Regions from separate parts of the Homo sapiens genome. Here all the other regions are linked to region 1. Evidence: promoter capture Hi-C in human tissues and cell types (Jung and others, 2019). All regions are on one chromosome and are shown on one strand. The core of a region is centred on a gene start or on the middle of the fragment in contact, and the rest is flanking DNA. Distances in the headings are between cores, read along the strand shown. Region 1 holds the start of DRD2 (dopamine receptor D2). Region 2 has its middle 39 kb from the start of DRD2. Region 3 has its middle 63 kb from the start of DRD2.

Region 1 (2,849 bases), core at 324-2,823:
CTTTTTCAAGTGGTCCTAATGCTGCAGGATGAATCAGAGATAAGCATGCATATTTGCATTTGAAGCAGGGTGGGAGTGGGGAGAATCGTTGAACATCTAGCTCCCTAAGGAGGAGCAAGGATTGGCCTAAAAGGTTTGTAGCCTGGTCAAAATACAGAAAGGCTTGGATCTGCAGAAGGATCTGGAGTGGGATCCACAAAGTGCCTTGCACCTCACTCCCTCACCCCCTCACCCAACCTCAAGAGCCACCGAAAAAAAAGTAGTGGGGTGTCAGGTGGGGCAACAGTGACTTGCTCAGACAGCTTCCTTGTGGCTGAGAGCAAGCGCCTGTCCCCACGGAGCTGCACTGCTGTGACTTGTGTCCATGGTGAAGCCTGTTATGTAGACGCACACGCACCCTCTTACCTCTGCTCTTCAAGAGGAAGCACTCAAGGGCTGCCCGCCTCAGACAGGGATAGGGAAGCGCTCTGTCTGGTGCTTAGAGGTGTCTCTTGTCTCCGCATACCACCCTAGAGGGGCTCTCGGTCCATCATAGAGCCGGGCCGAGAGCCGGGCGGTCACCCTCCGCTACTGCCGCCACCGTCGCCTGCACTGCCGGGTAGAAACGGGTCTGGCACCCAAGCCTCCCTCCCCGACTAGGTGTCAACCCAAGAGAAGGCGAAGGAGAACGAAAGTTCAGGACCAAGGACAGCGGCAACCGTGGGAGCGGGAGAATCCAGCCAGAATCTGCCTCTCCCCCATCCTTAGCTTCTGCCTTAGAAACTGAAAAGGGTCAGGTCGCACCAACACAGAGTTGCCAAAAACAGCCCTTCTTCCTCCGGAAGAAGTCGGAAACTCTGGCCGCGAGCCCCGGGTCTCGCGCTTGGGTGCTGGGGGAAGTGCCCTCCCGAGATTGTGGGGAGCGGCCTCCCTCCCGCCCTCCGATGCCGCGGCTCCGCCGTGCTGCCCTGGGCGCCCCGCGGGGAGGCTGCCCCAGCTGCGCCCGCTCGTGCTCGGGGAGAGGATTCCCTTCTAAGTGGCGAGGAGGCTACTGAGAAGGAGGGAGAGGGGATAGCAGCCGCGGGCTCCAGACGCCCTCTGCCCCCGCCCGACGGGGAGCCCATGCAGAGCCGGATCCCAGGCGGGCGCTCCCGAGCAGGCGGCCAGGAGTGGCCGCACAAACTTCTGGTCCTGGCCTCGCTCCCCTTGGAGGTCCCTCCTCCTCTCCCCGTGACACTGAGTCGCCCGCCGCTCCATCCGGCCGGTGCTTACCTTCAAGCCATAGGGCGCCCGGGGGCAGAGACGGCGCCGGCTGCTTGAGGCTTCCAGCTCCCGCCGCATCCACGCGCGGCCGCCCCTCCGGCAGCCGTCCGGGGCCGCCACTCTCCTCGGCCGGTCCCTGGCTCCCGGCCCCGCCGCGCCGTTCAGAGCCCCGGCGGGCAGCAGCTCGGCCGGCTCTGGCCCGCGGGGAGCAGTGGACGGGCCGCGGCGGGGCGGGGCGGGGCGGGGCCGGGCGCGGGGCGGGCGGGCAGGAGGGAGCGCGGGGACGGGGCGGAGGCGGCGCGGTGCGCGCGTGAGGCTGCCGGTTCGGCACTGAAGCTGGACAGCTCTGCGGCGCCCGAGCGCGGGGAGCGCGGGAGGGAGGTGCCCCGGTCCCCGCCCCTGAGACAGGCCCCGCCCCCGCCCCCCACCAAAGGAGCTGTACCTCCTCGGCGATCCCCGGCCTGAACGGGTAGGAGGGGTTGGGGGATTCCGCCATCCCTTGTTTTGAGGCGGGAACGCAACCCTCGACCGCCCACTGCGCTCCCACCCACACCCAGAGTAATAAGCTGTGATTGCAGGCTGGGTCCTCACCGTCTGCTCGCCAGTCTTCTCCTTTGAGGACTCAGAAGCCAAGGGTTGCGGGAGGCACCACCCATCCAGCAAGTCAGGCAAGGAGAGGAGGTGTTGGAAGAGGTCCGCATCCGTTTTCTGACTTCAGGTCTTGGAATCTATGTAGTCAGTTCTATTGCTGGACTCATCCAAAGGAAAAAGCCTGTTTGGAGTTGACCTGACATGGAAATGCAAAAGGAGGCCTCAGGGGTTCCAGCTCACCCTTGACTCCAAACTGAGGTGTGTGAGGCAGGGAGTGGGGAGAGGGAGAAAGAGATAGAGTGGTGAAGGGTGTTCCGCTGCTACCCTGCCCACTGTCATTTGGGCTGCAGAGGAACCTCGTTCTTCTCCCCTTTTCTTCCTCTCTCCTTTTCTTTCTTTTCTTTTCTTTTCTTTCTTTCTTTCTTTCTTTCTTTCTTTCTTTCTTTCTTTCTTTCTTTCTTTCTCTTTCTTTCTTTCCTTTCTTTCTTTCTTTCTTCCTTCCTTTCTTTTTCTTTCTTTCTCTTTCTTTTCTTTCTTCTGCAGCAATTAGTTACCAACTGTCCTCAGTTTGCCAGATTCTGTGTCAGATTCAGAAGTCACACACAGAAAGAAAACCAGGCCCCTGATCCCGCACCCTGGCAATCCAGAGAGGGGACCCCCAGGGAAATAACTGAGGCTTAAACAGGTGCTGTGAAGCACAAAAAAGCGAGACTTTACAGGAACCGGGCATTGAAGGAGCAACACCAGTTCCCAAGGGGAGAAGGTGGCACAACACTCCAGGGAGAGGGAAGAGCAGGGGCAGAGGACTGACTCTGCAGAGCAGGGAGTCGGCCCTGCATGGCTGGAATCCAGCCTCTCTGGGCCACAAGGATTAACTTCATCTCAGCATTTCCTCCAATGACACACACAATTATAGAAAGTGAGGGCTGGAAAGGACCTTAACATTCATCCAATTCCGCCTCACCTCAGAAGGGAGAACTGAGTCCCAGAGAGATGGAGTGTCCTTGCAAATCCCA
Region 2 (3,007 bases), core at 462-2,961, 39 kb after region 1:
TTATCAATGGCCTAAGGTCACAAGGGATGTGGGGTAGAGACTCTGATAGAAGCAGAGGAGGGGCTCAGGGAGGACAGGGAGGTGGAGGAAGCTGAAAGCCAAGAGAAGCTTCCTTACACACACACAAGGACACCACCTTGGGGAGAGGTTTCTGACTTTCGAGACCCTGAGGGAAGGGTCTCCTCCCACTAGAAACTGTACTGGAAAGTGAGAGAGAAAAAGTGAGCAACACGATTACTGTACCCACCAGCAACCAGATGCCGGATGCAGTGAAGCCTAGGAGCCTTAATTGGGGATTAGAGGCAGAACTTTATCCACGCACTGCTTTGGTGGCCTCATTAAAAGCTGGAAAATTCTCCATGCAGGTGCAGTGACATTTTGTGAAGTGACCTGGAGGCTGGCTAAGCCCTAGGGAGCATCCTGCCCAGGTCGGACACTGTGATAGCCTGCCCTTTCTCCTGCCCAGTGTGACAGGAGTTTACCCTTCCCATCTTCACCTCCTGCAGCACCTGCCATGAGTGACAGAGTGAAGACAGACTCACAAAAAGACTTGTGCCCATTTGGGGCCAGGTGATGATGCCAGGCAATCCTGGTGTCCCCATATCTCTTGTCTGCCCAGGGGCCACTTGGGCTGAATTTCCATCCTAAGTTTAGTAAAACCTCTTTAAAACTCAAAACCTAAAGGTTTATCTTGAAAATGCAAGGGATAATGACCCCTCAAGCTCTATTTCTCATGATGCAGGTGGTAAAATCCATCACCTTCTTTGATTGTCATACTGATCCTTAAGTGAGGCAAGACAGGAGATATTGTTCAGATTTTGCAGAGGTAGAAATTGAAGCTTGAAGATGGGGAAGTTCCAGGGTTGAGACCTGAGACCAGGTCTTCTGATGCTCTTATTCTGAAGCCTTTCAAGGAAGGACAACTGGTCCTCATCTGTTGGCTGGAGCTGGAAGGAGTGACCTTTGGCAGGTCCTGTTGACCAGGTGTCCAATGGCCTTTACCTCTGGACAGGGCAGCATCTCCTCCAGTCCTCCTGGTCCTAGGAGATTAACCGATCAGCAAATAATCATGGATTGAAACATAATTTGCTGAAGGTATCATGGAAGTTACAAAGAAGGATGATTCCTGCTCTGACTTACGGAGCTCATGGCCTAAATGGGGAGCCAAGACCGACAGACATTTATGATGAGTAGCGATAGTATCACATTCAGTTTATCTGAGAGTTTGTCCAATGTCAAAGCACGTTATTACTTGGGATTATAATCTCCTCTGTATCTGTCTGTATGTAAAGTATTTGGCTTGATATGCCCTGGAAAGCAAAAATGTGAAGCTTTTATTATTATTATTACTTAGATTATTTTTCACTGGACTGCACACTACTTGAGGGTGAAGCTATGTTTTCTTCATCATTGTGGCCTCTGCACATCATTTTGCGTGTTTTGAAGGAAATACAGAATTAATGTTTGCAAATGTTGAATGAATGAAGGTCATTTAAACTTCACAAGAAGTCTGTGGAGTGATTTTTTTTCCTGTAAAGACAAGGAATCTGAGACACAAGTAGGGAAAGTGATACGCAGTTAGTGACAGAGCTCCTGGGGCAAGAAGACATCCTATGCCAAGTGTAAAAGGAAGACATGGGAATTCTGCACTGGGAAGGTCAGGGAAGACTTCATGGAGGAGGTGTCACTTTTATAGGCTCTTTCATGAGTGAGTTTCAGAAAGGCATAAAAGAAAGAGGTATCAATGAGGGGGAACTGCATGAACAAACTCCTGAAGAGGCAGGAATGCACCGCACAGAGAAGGTTCAGTGACAAAGGGTCCAACCAGGTAGACAGGGACCAGGTCTGGGAGGGCCTTGAACATCAAGCTGAAGGTTGAGGCTAGGACTGGGGCACTACCTGGACCACTGTCCACCTGAGGACACCAACTTTGGGCCTACATCCATCCAATGTGGGGGCTCTGTGTCAGTGCTAGTGAGTGTCAGATCCGGGAAGCATGGGAGCACTTTCACCCAGGACAGGACAGGGCCGTGTGCTGGGCAAGGTGAGTCATTCATCATCACCAGGAAAAGGTGAGCAATCTGCCCAGGCTCTAATGAGAAAGATTGGAGCCCACAAGCACATGTTTATTACTGAAGGTGCCACATTAATTATGGACTCTGAAAGGGGAGGGAGAAGTCATGGGCTCACACTGGGAAGCAGAGGACTGCCATCCATCTGGAAGAAGTGGCCAGAGTGATGTGCATGCTACTCTGAGCCTGGCCCAGATATTGCTCAGTGCCCTGAGAAATATCCACACAGCTCGCATTCATTCATTTGCTCAGCAAATATTCCTTAAACACCAACTGGTCACAAGGCACCTGTGTAAAGGCCTGGGCTCGGTGCCCTGGAGGACCTCAGAATCCAGTGACTGTTGGAGACAGATGCACAATCAGATATTTGGGATAAAGTCTGCTGGGATGGAGTCGAAGTGTGGGCACATCACCTGGCCTGGAGGTGACCAGGATGGGTAGGAGTTAGCTACAGCACCCTTGTAAGGCACTTAAGGGGCTGATTCTTCAGCCTGTCAGCAATGAGAGCCACTGAAAGAATGGAGAGGGATGTCACATGGTCAGATATGCTCTATTGCACTGCACATCACCCCTGGCCACCCCTGCCTCCTGATGGGGCCTTCTCTCTTCTCTCCTTCCACCTTGCCTGTCCTGGACTCCATCTCTTCAGGGACAAGGGGTGCCAGAGTGCTATGCTATGGGGCTTCTGGAATTGGTTTGTCCACACCTGGGCATATGTTTGAGGGCAGGACGACCACAGGTGGGATTCATACCACATGGACTAAGTGCTCATTTTGTTGCCTCCATCCAGCCCCAAAGGGCTACGGAGGCTCCCCTTGGCCTAAGGTATAAGGCAGCTATAACAGACCAAGAGCCATCATGGGACCTTAGGATCAGAATGAGGGGGCTGGAGCCTCCTAGAGACCACCTGGTGAGAAATAGTGCAACAGCACTGA
Region 3 (2,714 bases), core at 48-2,547, 63 kb after region 1:
TCTATGTTTCTCCAGGCTCCATAGTCACCCAGGCTGAAAGCATCTTCCTCTCATTCGTTCCTGGGACCAATTTGCTCACCAAATTCACTGGTTTTACCTCCTAAATATTTATCAGGTATTTCCTCTACTTTCAATCCCACCATCCCTGCGTAAATGTAAGCCCTTGTCATACTAGGTAATCATGGTCAGGGATTTGGAATCTGGTCAGAGAAAGCTGTGTTCAAATCTCAGTTTATGCTCATAGCTTATGCTGTGCAATCCTGGGCAAGTTATTAAACCTGTTGAAATTTCAGTTTCTTTGTATGTAATGTGGGCATAATAGTGACAGCTGCCTCAGAGGTTGATACAAGATTTATGAGATAATCCTTGCAAAGTATTTAGCACTGTACCTGGCACGGGATAAGTACTCAGTAAATATTGATTAATATTACTAGACAGTTGCGATAACCTCTCATCTGGTCTGTCTACCTCCAGCCCCACCTGCCTCCGTATTATCTGCCTACCATTAAAGGGAAGATAAAATCCACGATGATTCTTCCCAGAGCAAATGCCACCACAGGTACACAGATACGCACATGCACACACATACATGCATACAAACACATGCACACTCAGCATTGCCCCAGCTTAAAGACACAACTCTTTTGCCTGGTATACAGGGACCTTCTTAGCTTTTCTAAACTTGAAAATTAGCTGCTGGCTATTTCCATGGCACAGTATTTATTTCTGATCTCTGAGCTTTTGAGTAAGATGTTCCCTCTTCCTGATGTGCCCCTGCCCCTCTTGTCCTTCCAGTGACCTCCAACCCATGCATGAAAATCCAGGCAAGTGTCACCTCCTCTGGGAAGCCCACAGGTCCTCTCAGGGTGTACATGCTCTGCCCCTATTATGGACATCTCGGAGCCTCAGTGCCCTCACCTGCAAAACGGTACTTAAAACACCACTCCAGACAGTGTTGTATGAGGATTAAATGAGCTTAAAATTCATGACATTTCTGGAAGATTGGAATTCAACCAGAGTGCTGGGAAGAGCTCAGACTGTTTCATGTGATGGATGGTAGGTAGAGCTGGTATTGTTTACACAAAGGGAAGAGAGTGGGGACTTACAATGTGAGCCCCAGGAGGCAGGCACCAGATTCTATTCATTTTTGGACTCCCAAGCAAGGAGTGCTTTGCTCACAAAAGGCAACAATTGCTTGCTAAATTAAAGCCTGAATTAGAAAGTAAATAGATATCTCAGGCCACCTCTCCCTGCAATGAATGTGGGTGGTGTTTGGCCAGGAGTTATGCCACCATCACACATCTTTTCCTCCAAGTGAGAAAATCACTTTCTCAATGATTTTCCCTCATTCTGGCCAGGCAAAGATGATCACACCACCTTTATCTCTGGTTCCCAAAAGAGGAAAACAATGGGACTTGGAGGTTAGATGCCTCTCTAAGGTGGTCCAGCCTGTCACCAGCAGCCCCTGGCTTTCACTAAGGCTTACCCCGACTCGCTCACACTCTTCTTTCTGTGGACCCAGAGAGCTGTGTGGACAAGCAAGAGAAGCAGGCTCATTGCTTGTGACAGCAGAGGGGGCACAGAAGCAGCCTGGGCCATCCCAGACAGACCAGACCAGCCTCTCTCCCTCATGCCTATGGGACATTTCATAGCTGTCACCGCCCCAGGGCTTCCATCATGACCAAAGCAAAGAACCCTTTTCACCTCAGTAGCTTTGAAAAGCAGCGTCGCTAAGGCTGCCAACAGGGATTCAGCCCTGGAGATTTCTTGGAGTTGGTTTCATGGATCCAGCAAACCCTGCATCTGCTCACAGTTAAACTCACAGTTGGGTCAATGCATGCATTGCCTATAGCCCTCACTCATTAAGCTAACCTGGGCATCTCCTTTTTCTCTCTTTGGAAGCATCTCCCCAGCTCCCTATAGTTTTCAGACCGCACGAACCAGAAAATACATCATAGCAAGGCTGAAAAGGGAGACACTTGGTTAAGATCACCCAAAGTCAGCCCCAAACCCAGGCCCTGACACTCAGCCTAATGTCCTCGCCCTGCCCCACACTACCTGCCTGGATTGGCACTTGTAGTGCCCACCCCCTGAGGATAGGCTGAAACTCAGGCTTGTTTTTGAAAGTCCTGAAACCTCTACTAGCCAGGTCAGGAGCTCAGCAGGTGCCAGGGCTGCAAGTTTTAATCATGATAACTACATCTCTCTTTCCCTCCCTTTTTGCCAGGTCCTGTACATTGACTATCTCTTTGGACTCCACAAAACTTTAGGAGGCTGGTGTTATCATCTCCATCTTACAGATAAGGAAAGAAAAATTCAAAAAAGTTATGTAGCATGCCCAAGATTCCGCCTGGAAAGTGGACATCTTTCATTTCAGGGCTGTGGATGTGGCTGGGTCAGGCACTGCTTATAGTAGGAGGGGAAGAAGTCAGATTTCATCCAAATGACAAGAAGAAAACATCATCCACAAGCCCAGCTAGTGAATATGCTGCAGGCAGGGAGAAAAGAGGATCCGGAGTCAAAGACATCTCCAGGAGAAACAATGTCTGCTGCTCAGAGGAGAACAGCTGGAAGCCCAAGGCCTACTTCTATAAGGCTACTATGCCCACAGCAAAAGCATGGGTCAACCCAAGAGATCTAGGACGGCTGCAGAGAGATACACACGTCACCATGAGGCCAGAATGCACATCTTGGGTCTTCACCCAGAGGAGAAG

Evidence for each region. The method cuts DNA at HindIII sites, captures the fragments that hold promoters and counts their contacts. A contact is called where the count stands out against the background at its distance.
Region 2: a fragment that was not itself captured here is called in contact with the fragment with the promoter of DRD2 in region 1 in 6 of the 25 tissues and cell types used here (H1 embryonic stem cells, aorta, bladder and 3 more).
Region 3: a contact is called between a fragment that was not itself captured here and the fragment with the promoter of DRD2 in region 1, in 1 of the 25 tissues and cell types used here (bladder).

The regions. Positions count from the first base shown.
Region 1 is chr11:113,473,825-113,476,673 of GRCh38, forward strand. It overlaps DRD2 (dopamine receptor D2), which reads right to left and starts at 1,574. Exons shown (of 8, transcript NM_000795.4): 1 at 1,252-1,574. It overlaps LOC105369501 (a long non-coding RNA gene), which reads right to left. Exons shown (of 6, transcript XR_948024.2): 6 at 1,705-2,029. The HindIII fragment of the contact is 27,627 bases long and covers 1-2,849 here.
Region 2 is chr11:113,513,022-113,516,028 of GRCh38, forward strand. No RefSeq gene overlaps it. Among named protein-coding and RNA genes, the nearest start is that of DRD2, 39 kb to the left of the region's middle. The HindIII fragment of the contact is 5,554 bases long and covers 1-3,007 here.
Region 3 is chr11:113,537,531-113,540,244 of GRCh38, forward strand. No RefSeq gene overlaps it. Among named protein-coding and RNA genes, the nearest start is that of DRD2, 63 kb to the left of the region's middle. The HindIII fragment of the contact is 8,667 bases long and covers 1-2,714 here.